Linked DNA regions of Homo sapiens: regions 1, 2 and 3 are each linked to region 4. Evidence: promoter capture Hi-C in 16 types of primary human blood cells and fetal thymus (Javierre and others, 2016). All regions are on one chromosome and are shown on one strand. Each heading gives the region's core, a stretch centred on a gene start or on the middle of the fragment in contact. The rest is flanking DNA. Distances are from core to core; before and after follow the strand shown. Region 1 overlaps COPS8-DT (COPS8 divergent transcript). Region 2 overlaps COPS8-DT (COPS8 divergent transcript). Region 3 holds the start of COPS8 (COP9 signalosome subunit 8). Region 4 holds the start of IQCA1-AS1 (IQCA1 antisense RNA 1).

The links. The method cuts DNA at HindIII sites, captures the fragments that hold promoters and counts their contacts. A CHiCAGO score of 5 or more calls a contact.
Region 1: a fragment that was not itself captured here is called in contact with the fragment with the promoter of IQCA1-AS1 in region 4 in 7 of 17 cell types (M2 macrophages, M0 macrophages, neutrophils and 4 more); the score reaches 8.0 in M2 macrophages.
Region 2: a fragment that was not itself captured here is called in contact with the fragment with the promoter of IQCA1-AS1 in region 4 in 3 of 17 cell types (M0 macrophages, activated CD4 T cells and M1 macrophages); the score reaches 6.6 in M0 macrophages.
Region 3: a fragment that was not itself captured here is called in contact with the fragment with the promoter of IQCA1-AS1 in region 4 in 1 of 17 cell types (neutrophils); the score reaches 5.5 in neutrophils.

Annotation. Positions count from the first base shown.
Region 1 is chr2:237,064,191-237,067,187 of GRCh38, reverse strand. The region is part of intron 1 of COPS8-DT (COPS8 divergent transcript); the gene reads left to right. It overlaps LOC105373950 (a long non-coding RNA gene), which reads right to left. Exons shown (of 3, transcript XR_007088140.1): 1 at 2,400-2,997; 2 at 1,652-1,731; 3 at 372-799. Among named protein-coding and RNA genes, the nearest start is that of COPS8-DT, 20 kb to the left of the region's middle. The HindIII fragment of the contact is 1,422 bases long and covers 969-2,390 here.
Region 2 is chr2:237,031,246-237,034,072 of GRCh38, reverse strand. All of the region lies in intron 1 of COPS8-DT (COPS8 divergent transcript), which reads left to right. Among named protein-coding and RNA genes, the nearest start is that of COPS8-DT, 53 kb to the left of the region's middle. The HindIII fragment of the contact is 1,202 bases long and covers 696-1,897 here.
Region 3 is chr2:237,085,667-237,088,451 of GRCh38, reverse strand. It overlaps COPS8 (COP9 signalosome subunit 8), which reads right to left and starts at 2,563. Exons shown (of 8, transcript NM_006710.5): 1 at 2,410-2,563; 2 at 1,255-1,325. The coding sequence starts at 2,487. COPS8-DT (COPS8 divergent transcript) reads left to right here and starts at 2,631. Exons shown (of 3, transcript NR_187934.1): 1 at 2,631-2,785. RefSeq lists enhancers at 1,728-2,622, 2,433-2,785, 2,623-2,785. The HindIII fragment of the contact is 3,251 bases long and covers 1-2,785 here.
Region 4 is chr2:236,389,413-236,392,350 of GRCh38, reverse strand. It overlaps IQCA1-AS1 (IQCA1 antisense RNA 1), which reads right to left and starts at 1,277. Exons shown (of 2, transcript NR_174961.1): 1 at 883-1,277; 2 at 1-56. DRC11 (dynein regulatory complex subunit 11) reads left to right here. Exons shown (of 19, transcript NM_024726.5): 10 at 1-107; 11 at 280-375. RefSeq lists an enhancer at 1-957. The HindIII fragment of the contact is 7,674 bases long and covers 1-2,938 here.

The sequences.
Region 1 (2,997 bases), core at 430-2,929, 670 kb before region 4:
CATAGAAGATTGGCTGAACTATGGCACACTCTCTCAATAGAGTGCTATATAGCTTTAAAAAGGAGTGAATAATATCATCATCAGCTGTGAAAAATTGACTCCAAAGATGGTGCCCTATGCACGTGCAGCCAATCACATCAAGAGCCTGAGCTGACCTTGCATTTTACTTTTCCCAGTAGAACATAGAAGTGAATTCAGTTCTTTAAGAAAACTAGTCTCTAAAAGGACTGACAACTTCTACCTTCTCTCTCAGATATTATATGAAAGATGAGGAAAGATATGGAATATGGCCAGTGCATCTGTAGGGGTGGAGAGAAAGCATTCCTTCCACCCTCTCTGAAGTTTCACTGAAGTGACTGACAATAGACAGATTCATAGGAGAAAAATGGCTTACACATTTATTAAGGTGCATATGGCCATGGGAGTCCTACAAATAGGAGACTCAAAGAAGGGCCAGATGGTTGAGGCTTATATATCCTCTTCATAGGAGACAGGGAAGTGGGGGACTGTAGGAAATTTTAGAGGGGTAGTAAATGATTTCTAAGGAAAATGAGTGAGCCCAAAGAATAGATAATAGCCTGGGACAAAGTTCCTCTGAGTTCTGGGGCAGGTGGCAGGAGGGTGAGGGGCAGAACTACGCTGTGAACAAAGGTTGTCTTCTTATGCAGGTAAAGTCTCCCAGGTCATCTCTTGGAGCTGTCCTCAGACGAATAGGTGAAAAGTCTGTCTGGCATGGTGATGATTCCCAGTCTTTTCTCTTCTCCAGTAGTTAATCTTTCCTGGTTATTTGATGAGATTCCTAGGAAGAGTGTCTTAAGACAATTACATCTCTAGCCAGGCGCAGTGGTAAAACTTAGATAAAGAAATTGCAGAAAGAGTCCTTGCTGGTACTTCAGGAAAGAAAGAGGATCAGATAGACTAGACAGGGGGTTGAAAGGAGACTGGAGAAAGACCTTAGTTCTAAAGCTTATTTTTGAGGCCTTTTAATTTCCTTTAACTCAAAAACCCTCAGCATACCAAAGTGCCATATTTTGGGGTACTGTTTTCTGAGCCTCAACTCATGCAAGAATGTCTTGAGGTATCATGGTCAAGGACATTGAAATAATGGTCTCTTTGGCAAGTGTAACCCTGAGGGAAGACAGAAAAGCCCCTGACTCTCCTGGCCAGGGGTAAGGAATGTGGTGGGGGCCTTTAAGATCATGTAAGTCCTGGCAGGGCATGGTGGCTCATGCCTATAATCCGAGCACTTTGGGAGGCCAAGGTGGGAGGATCATGAGGTCAGGAGACTGAGACCATCCTGGCCAACATGGTGAAACCCTGTCTCTTCTAAAAATACAAAAATTAGCTGGGCATGGTGGTGCGTGCCTGTAGTCCCAGCTACTTAGGAGGCTGAGGCAGGAGAATCGCTTGAACCCAGGAGGTGGAAGCTGCAGTGAGCTGAGATCACACCACTGCACTCCAGCCTGGGTGACAGAGCAAGACTCCATCTCAAAACAAAACAAAACAAAACAAAACAAAAAACATCATGTAAGTCCTTCATTCCCACTCTGTACCACCCACAATGACCTTCTGGTTGGAAGTTGGTTCTCAGGAGGGCATCCACAGGCAGGAATGGACTGGTGGGAGGTGTCTGGTTAATCTGAGAACTGACCTGTGTCTTCAGCTGCCACCATCTGCTGAGGTTCTGTCCCGAGGCTCTCTGGAGGGCCCTGTCACACCCAGCCCTCCAGCCTGTGAAGTCAAGGTGCATTTCGTTTTCCTTCCCAGAAGGCTCAAATCCACATGATTTGAATTCTTTGAAGAGTTCAATCATTGGTGAACATAATTTGGGTGGATAGTAAAACGTCGTACCCTTGCCCAAAGGAAGAGGAAAGTGCTCATGTTTTTACAAACATAATAATTTCCTTTTGGAGCTACTTATTTTGCAATAGTCTATAAGCAGAACTTTGTGTTAAATGACTTTTCTGATATCCACCAGCAAATCCTGTGGCCCACTCACACACATGCCAGCTTAGATGACTGTTGATACAATGTTTTCACTTCCCTATCAAGGGGACAAACCAGGGTGAAGTTCTGAAATTTGAGATGATTGATAACATAGCTCTGGTAAAACAGATGGTCTTCAATGGAATATGATACTGATATTAATTATGGGATGGGAAAATAAAGTTCTTTACAGAAAGTGAGTAGGCCAAAGTGGCATTATGCATACAATTATAGGATTTTGATGATTTTGCTGTTTTGTTAAATAGCAATCTCACTGCAGAATTTAAATGTAATTGCTCCTATCATAGAGCCCTGTTCTCCTAAAGGGAGGTCAGTTGCTGGTTTGTGTAATAAGGATTCTGGTTGGCCTTTGTGGCAGGTTCCTCAAAAGAACCTCTAAAGCTTAGGATTACCTCGCCCGGTAATCTAATCTGCTTTCTTTCTGTCAGTGGAGCTGGAAGGAACCGAGAGGCCGGTGAGACATTAGCCCGGCCTTGAAGACATCGGCTCCACCGAGCAGCAAGCAGGCCCCAGTGGTCTCTGCTCTGCCTGGAGGGGGACAAGGGTGGGGATGCATTTTGGGGCTGAAGCTTACACCCCAGTGCTTCCCTGAGAAGCCCCGATGCTATGGGCCAAGATAGGGTCCCGGCTGCAGGCAGGCTTCCTGCGTGGGCTCACGTGAAGTCACACAGCTGGTGTCTCGTTGTCCATTGTTGACCCAGTTTCCTCGAGGTTGGCTCCCTCTCAGACAGGCCCTCCGCCCGGTACTGCGGCAGCGATAGCCTCGCATCGTCTCAGGCTAGTCCAGCAGGAAGAAGGGAGACTCTCTTTTTGGGGAGTCCCAGCCCCGGCAGTGTCATGTGCCCACGTGGACCAATCACTGTGGAGACGGTAGTGAGATGCTCTGATTGGCTTAGACCCAGGTCATGTAATGGACCCTGCCCAGAGTCCCCGGACTTAGAGGCAGGGCGGAGTGCTTTCCCAACTTAAGTGTGGATGGAGTTACCAGGC
Region 2 (2,827 bases), core at 47-2,546, 640 kb before region 4:
GTTAATTGCTTGCTATTTGCACTGTCTCTTAATGTCTTGCAACTGAGCTTTTGTTTCATATGTCTTTGTAAACTTCTGATGATAAATATCTCCATTAGAATATATTGTATTCTCCTAAAGACTCCAAATTATGGAGAAGCTGTTCTAAATTTTATAGAGCACACAGATCCCTTTGAGGTTAGCTATTTGAGAGCCTTCTGCATGATAATAGGTGCAGTTTGATTGAAAAATACCTACTGTCAAAAGCATATGTGAGGTCATAACTTGTTGATCTCAAAGTCCTGTGAGGACACATTTACATGACAGTCAAGCCTTGGTGCACAAGACTGTTAGTTAGTATGCAGGAGGCACTTGGCGCCTACAATGACTGCGAGACTCCTTGAAGAAGGATGGGGCTTGGAGTGTCCCCCAGGGCTCTGCTGCCCACAAATCAGGAACCATTGCTCCAGGAAACAGAAATTCTAGAATGTCTGGTTTCAGAGTTAATTTTCCATTAAGAGAGAGAATTTAATCTTCTGATGTTACCATACCCGTTTATTCATCATGATAACAATATGACCAAAGAAGTAAATATTGCTGCAAATCTCTTCTACTAGAGTGATGTGATACAGTTAAAATATGTTACCATTAAAAATGGCAATTACACAGTAAGCAGGCCAGATAGGAAGCTTGGGAAAGCTGATGCATTTTAAGCTTATAGCAGTTTACTAAGAACAAAAAGTTCACATAATTATTCTAAAAGTGGACATAATTTTGTTTCTTGCTTTGAACTTCCATAGGAGCCGTAGCTAGGATGTTGACTCAGGGTTCTATGAAGTGTTTTGGAGAAAAGTTAACAAAGTAGGAACAGGGTGCCTGTATCTGATGATCTGAATCAATTTTGGTACAGAGCTTAAAAAAGAGGGGAAATAGGCAACCAAAACCTCCACTGGGCTTTGTCAGGAGCGTCATCAGCCATGTATGGTTGGCATCCACAGAGAGAAACTCAATACAGGCACCCCAGGGGCCAACTGAGAGGGGCTCCTCCTGCTTTAGATGTGCAGCTGGGGAGGACGCTTTGTGTTCATTCATTCCATTCATTCAGCAGTCATTTGGGGTTACAGCAGTGAACACATCCAAGTTCCTGCCCTCGTGCCACCTAAGTTCTAGTGATGTGTGGGGGGGATGCGGATATACAGCAAGCAAATAAACAAGTTAGTGTAGATTCCACATCATGCTGTGTGTAGACTTCACATGGCATCATGTGTAGACCCCACATGGTGGTGTGTGTAGACCCCACATGGTGTTGTGTGTATACCCCATATAGTGTTGTGTGTGGACTCCACATGGTATTGTGTGTAGACTATATATGGTGTTCTGTGTAGACCCCACACAGTGTTGTGTGTATACCCCATATAGTGTTGTGTGTAGACTCCACATGGTGTTGTGTGTAGACTCCACATGGTGTTGTGTGTAGACTCCACCTGGTGTTGTGTGTAGACCCCACATGGTGTTGTGTGTATACCCCATATAGTGTTGTGTGTAGACTCCACCTGGTGTTGTGTGTATAACTGACACAGTGTTGTGTGTGGACCCCTCAAGGTGTTGTATGTAGTGTGTGCACTCCACATGGCATTGGTGCATGGAGAAAGGAAGCAGAGCAAGGAGAAGGTGACTTGGCACAGGCTGGTCCTAGGCACCTCCTGAGAAGGTGGCATTTGAGGAGAGACCTGTGTTGAGTAAAGGAGTAAGCCATGCAGCTCTGCAAGGGAGGGGAGTTTCAGGAAGGGGCTGCGCCATGTGCAAAGGCCCTGAGCTGGGAGCTCGGGGGCCCACAGGATGGAGCAGAGTGAGGGGAGTGGAGGGAGGTGAGTTAGAACGTGGGGTCAGAGGGGTCTCTGGGCCATGGTAACAAGCTTTCTGAGTGACATGGGGAGCCAGGAGAAGCTTTTAAATAGGAAACGATCTGACCTTTGTTTCAATAACACCACTTGGGCTGGAGGGGTGCACATGCTGTGTCCATGGCACTCACACAGCGAGACTTTCACTCTGTCTGGGAGGGAATTCAGACCATCCCTTTACAGAGTCATAGACATACCTCCAGCAACTCCTGCATCTCCTTTTCCCAGCCCAGAATCCATCCACGGGACTGCTGCCCTGGGGCCAGGACATGGAACAAGAGCCACCTCCCCTGCTGGCGGTGTGTGTGTGAGGGGGCCCTGCCAGCGAATTAAACCCAGGCTCAGCCTCTGGCTTTTGACTCCCTCCCTCCTTCCTCTTTCCCCATACCATGAGAAAATACAGCATAGGGGTTAAGAGAATGAGCCCAGGAGCCACGCTGCTCGAGTTTAAATTCCAACTCCACGAACGCTAGCCTGGCAAGTTACTTCATCTCTCACTGCTACAGTCTCCTCATCTGTGCGAGGGGTTTGATGCTATTCGCACTTCCCTCACAGGATTGTTAGGAGTTCAATGTGTCATCATATGCCCAGCATGGAGAAGACTACCTGGCTCACAAGAGTGCCACATGAGTGAATGCCACATGAGTGAGTGACATGGGAGTGAGTGCCACAGGAATGAGTGCCACATGAGTGAGTGCCACCTGGGTCTCAGTTCCTGCCTTTGTTGTTAATGTCAGCATCTCTGCCACAGGGATGGCTTTGCTTGGGTCTCCCTGCAATACTGCAGCCATCTCTGTGGGCCTAGGGTGAGGAGCCGGCCTTCTCTGTGGCCTAGGGTGAGGAGCCAGCCTTCTCTGTGGGCCCAGGGTGAGGGCTGGCCTTCTCTGTGGCCTAGGGTGAGGGCTGGCCTTCTCTGTGGGCCTAGGGTGAGGAGCTGGCCTTCTCTG
Region 3 (2,785 bases), core at 106-2,605, 700 kb before region 4:
ACAATAGTGGTTTTCCAGATAAAAAGGACATGAAATATTTTTACCAAAGTAATATTTTGCCATTTCTAGTGAATTTTTTAAAAATAATAATCCATATCCTAAATTTAGGCAACAGCACACTAAAAACACGAGGATTTATAGACGGCCCAAATTATTTATTAGGATATAAAAGTAAACAAATTTATGTACTATCAAGGCTGTAGCATTCCCTGACAATAAGCCTGGTACACAACACTTCTCTCCCGATTACAGCCCCTCCTACCAGTGGGACACAGCTTCTGAGGCAGGAGTTTTTATGGGTTTGGAGGCTTGAACTACAACAAACATATAATGACAGTTTTACAAAACAAAAACAAAAACCTTACATATGTGTAATAAAAATTTCAATTTAGTTTTTAAAAAGATATAAAAGAAAGGTTTTGGAAGAGTTTAAAATAAAATGTTATCAGGAATCATCAGTGAGTCACAGAACTATAGGAGACTTTTTTTTTTTTTTTTTGCAGTTATGCTTTCCTTTTGAGACAGGGTCTCACTTTGGTTGCTCAGGCTAGAGTGCAGTCGCGCAATCTTAGCTCACTGCAGCCTTGACTTTCTGGGCTCAGGTGATTCTCCCCACCTCAGCCTCCCAGGTAGCTGGGATTAGAGGCACACGCAACCATGCCCAGCTAATTTTTTGTATTTTTAGGACAGACGGGGTTTCACTATATTCCCCAGGCTGGTATCAAAACTCCTGGACTCAAGCCATCCACTTGCCTTGGCCTCCCAGAGTGCTGGGATTACAGGCGTGTGCCACGGCGCCCGGCCTAGAGTAGTTATGCTTTCTGACTTTTCCATGTGAACGTGAAATAGGAATAATTAAAAACAAAAAAAACTTAAAAAATCTCATACATGTTTGTAACGAATTCCTCTTGGCTGCAATCTTCTCTTTTCACTTCTTTTGTTTTATTGATTATATATGAAGTTAAGTAAATAGAGGTCATAAAAGTTTCTTAAAAAGACAAAAAGGTTAAATGAATTTACTGACGTAATTTGTCATAATAAATTGAAATGTTTTCTAGAAAGTATATGTAAGACAATGACGACCTAATCATAATTCATTAACCTATGATTCAATAGGAAATAGACGTTAACAATTACTGTAATAAAAAAGGTAGCTCGTTGTGCCTATGTTTAGTGGTGCTACTTCAGTGCAGAAATATTTCCATATAACTTTGAGAAACCTGTTGCTCTTAGCTTTAGGTTAAACATACTTACATGTCATTATGGAGCAAATATAAAGCTAGAAGCTGACCATACACTGGGGGTGTAGCAATTCCTCCAGGGGCCTAGAAGGCCAAAAATGAAAACAAAACAAAACAACACAAAATTTTAAAAACCTCATTTACCCTTTAACTTTCATTTTTAAAATAATATTTTATAAATGCTAATTTTAAAAGTAAGCCTTTTTAGTCTAAGACTATAAGTAATCTTATAGTCCTATTATAGATTTAGAAACAGCTTAGAGAAGTATCAAACACGAAAATTCTGAGTATTAAGTTTATATTCGTCATCAGCTTTGATTTATCTCCCTTTGGGCTTCAGTTTCTTTATACATTCAAGAATATGTAAGTGGATCCCCTTCCCCAGTTCTCAAATTCCCATTTAAATGATCTTACTATTATAAGAAACAAATTCGACAGATTCCTGAAGCATTCTGATTCTGCCCATTACATCAAGCGTCCTGAATAAGAGACAGAAAATCACCACAGCTGCGTTGCAAAGACAATTCTTTCCATTTTAACTCAACTGGAAAGTATCTATTATCTATTAGTGAGCTGCTGCTTCTGGATGTTGTCTCCTTTATTTAATTTTAAAACTAATGATATAAACCCTTTTTAAGTGTCTAAGAAAAACATTAACTTTAACAGCTGCATAACTTTCATCTGTCTTACTGAAGACAAAATGGCAAGCTAACTTGACAACATTACGAGAAAGGCTTTGTGAGTTAAAAAAAGGTTACAATGGTCACATTTTTCTTGGTGTGCGTGTGAGTTGCGGTGTGTGTGTTAGTGTGTGTGTGTATACCAAGATCTTTAATAAAACCCACTTTACTACCCTCTCCCAACCCGATACTGGGAAGGAAAGATGCCTAATTAATATGAGCTCATCGGTAGGTGCTGGAGCAAAGACGCACAGGGTTTTCGGGCTCACAAGCTGAAGACACATAACAAAAAGGTCCCGGCGAGTTCGGGGAGACCGGGCCCGGTCGGAGCAGGTTGCGGCGGTCAGGGATCCACACGTCCACCTCCCACGCCCGCCCCGTGAGCTCCCAAAGCCCGCTAGCCTCAGACCCCGTTACCCTGGAAACTGGTGCCGCCCCAGGGCCTAAGACTACTCCGCAGTTTCTCCCAGCGCGACGCAAAGGGTTACCTCGAGCTCCTGGTTCTCGCACTGATCCAGCAACTTTTTGAAACTAAAGGCGCTTTCCGCCATCACCGCCACTGGCATCTTCGCGGCCGGCCTCGCCGCTGCACCGTCCGGACAGCCAAACCCCAGACTGTCCCTCAGGCGTCGCGCCCGCGATGACGTTTAAAGCCGCCGTTGCCGCCGAGCGCCCCTGCGTACCAGACCGTCAGTTCCGGGGCGCCGTCAGACATCGCTGCGGCCGGGATAGGGCGCCGCCGTTCTGGCCGGCTTTCTCGGTGCCCTGGAGGACCTGGCCGGCTCCGCGGGAAGCTGTACTCAGAGCGCGCGGCCGCCCTCTGGCAGGGAGGAGTTCGTTGCACTTTTGAGGGTTCTTCACGAA
Region 4 (2,938 bases), core at 28-2,527:
AAATCTGGATGAAAAAAGATGAGTCTTGGAATTTCTCTCAGGACTATGATCCAGAACTGATCAAAGAGGAGAAACGAAAAGAATTACAGTCAGAGATCAGGATACAGGTACAGCTACGTTTATGGTGTAGTAACAGCAAATCATTTACTTCAACCATTGTGCTTCTTTACAATTTCCTACTAATGACCTACCCCATAATTTAAGGGATTTTTAAACTTCACAAACAAAACACAAGACATGCAAAGTGACTTAAAAGTAGTATGTTTTGTATTCTCCTAGGTTGATGAGTTGATGAGACAGGAACTTAAAAACTTAAAGCTAGCTGTGGACAGAGAAAGGGAGCGCCCAGTGAAAGCAGGAAAGAAAAAGGACAAGGTGAGTGGGGAAGGAGCCTGCAGAGGGGTGCGGTGGAGCGGATTCAGTCATGAAAAGCAGCCCCTGACATGCTGTGGCATGTCCAGGAGGGCCGCCTGTTGCCAGGACACCTCACGGGGAAACATGCCTGCCTTTGGTAAATTTAATTGGTCCACCATTTAACCTTTGGGCCTGTGGATTCATAAATAGGATAAACCCAACCATCTGAGAGTAACATCTCCCCAGCCCCGGTCAGTTGCAGATTCATATTACCCAAGCCCCACTGATAGAATGGGAACTATCAAAAGAGCCAAAGCACATTCCCCAAACAGCCCCCAACTGTTCCTGTACATAGATCTATAAGGGAGGCCAATGGTAATGAGCAGGTTTTTGTGAGTGAGGGAATCATAGGGAAAGGAATTGGATGAATTGGAAGTGTAAGTTGCCACCAATCCATCTCACAGTGGTTTAGAGTAGCTAGTTAGATCAGGGTATTTGAAGTTCATTTAGTTTGGCCCCTGCTTCTACCTTCATTCCAGAGACAGCCCTGTCATTGGAGCCAGAATACCCAAGGTAGAGGGCGGAGAGTTCTCCCTGTCAGTGCTGGCATGAGCATAGGCAGCCTTTGCTTCTGTGGCAGCTTTCTCCACGTTCCATGACTGGAGCCACTCTTTCTGTGATTCACACATTTTCTCTTAGAGGTTTCCACACATTCAGCTGCATTTGTGACTACTTTTGCTAGATCAGGGGCCATGCATGTGGTCTTTTTAGGATGACTGGCTCTTGATCCATTTTGTGTTGATATTATGGTTTAACCCTGAAGGCAACTGAATTGGTGTTCTGAAGATCTTTCACTGTAAGCTGAAAACACCAATTTAATAACCATCCATAGATGAAAGTAACTTCACAAGAGCTCTGGGATTCAGGTGAGAGGCTGCAGCACCTGGGTGGAGCACAGAATCATAAAAAAAAAGATGCACTGAAGAGAGTAAGAATGAAAGTTTCACTTTACCCATGTCACCCCAAAGCCCACACAGCCTAGTGCCAAGAGAGATCTCCTAGACCCATGAGTTTTATCTTGGAAGAAAGGGACAGAGAAGTGAACATCTGACTTCACCATGGAGCTCAGCACCAGGCCAGTGAAACCCAGTACCATGGGCCTCCCACAAACCCTGACACCAGGCCCACCCACAAAAATCAGCACTGGGCCTGTCTTTGGACCCCAGAACCATGGGCCTCCCACAAACCCTGGGTGCACCTTGCTTCTATGGCAGCTTTCTCCACTTTTGTGGTGTAGTAATAGCAAGTCATTTACTGCAACCATTGTGCTGCTTTATTTTTGTGGGCCCACCCACAAAAATCAGCGTTGGGCCTGTCTTTGGATCCCAGAACCAGAAAAGAATCAAAGTATATCACTACAAAACATCGTTAAGTTACACAGCAACTTGTAACTTCAGAGAAGAACAAAAGAACCTCAAAATAGAAATAACCTAACAAAATGGCAAAAGTAAGTCCTTACCTTTCAAAAAATACTTCAGATGTATATGGATTAAACTCACCAATCAAAAGATACAGAGTCACTGAATGGATTTTAAAAATCCAACTATATGCTATATACATGTGATTCATTTCAGATTTAGGGACACATAGGCTGAAAGTGAAGGGATGGAAAAAAGATATCTCATGCAAATAATAAGCAAAAGAGAGAAGAAATGGCTATACTTAGACAAAATAGACGTCAAATCAAAAACTATCACAAGAAACCAAAAAGATCATTAACTAATGATAAAAGGGTCAATTCAATAGGAAGATATAACAATTATATATACACCTTTAATCAAAGCACCTAAATATATGAAGTAAATATTAACATATCTGAAGGGAGAAATAGACAGCAATACAATAATAGTAGGAGAACTCACTATCCCACTCTCAGTAATGAATGTATCATCCAGACAGAAAATCAATAAGGAAACAGCAGACTTGAATAATACTAGGGACCAGATAGTCCTAACAGTTATTGTACCCAACAGCACCAGAATACACATTCTTCTCGAGTATGCATGGAACATTCTCCAGGATATATCACATGCTAAGTCACAAAACAAGTCTTAATAAATATAAGAATATTGAAAACATTCCAAGTAACTTCCAGCTGCAATGAAATGAAACTAGAAATCAATAACAAAAAGAATACAGAAAAATTCACAAATATGCGGAAATTAAACAACACACTCTTGAATAACCATTGAGTCAAAGAAAAAAATTCGCAGGGAAATTAGAAAATATCTCAAGACAAAAATGACAGGCAGAGGAGCCAAGATGGCCGAATAGGAACAGCTCCGGCCTACAGCTCCCAGTGTGAGCGACGCAGAAGACGGGTGATTTCTGCATTTCCATCTGAGGTACCGGGTTCATCTCACTAGGGAGTGCCAGACAGTGGGCACAGGTCAGTGGGTGCGCGCACCGGTCGCGAGCCGAAGCAGGGCGAGGCATTGCCTCACTCGGGAAGCGCAAGGGGTCAGGGAGTTCCCTTTCTGAGTCAAAGAAAGGGGTGACGGACGGCACCTGGAAAATTGGGTCA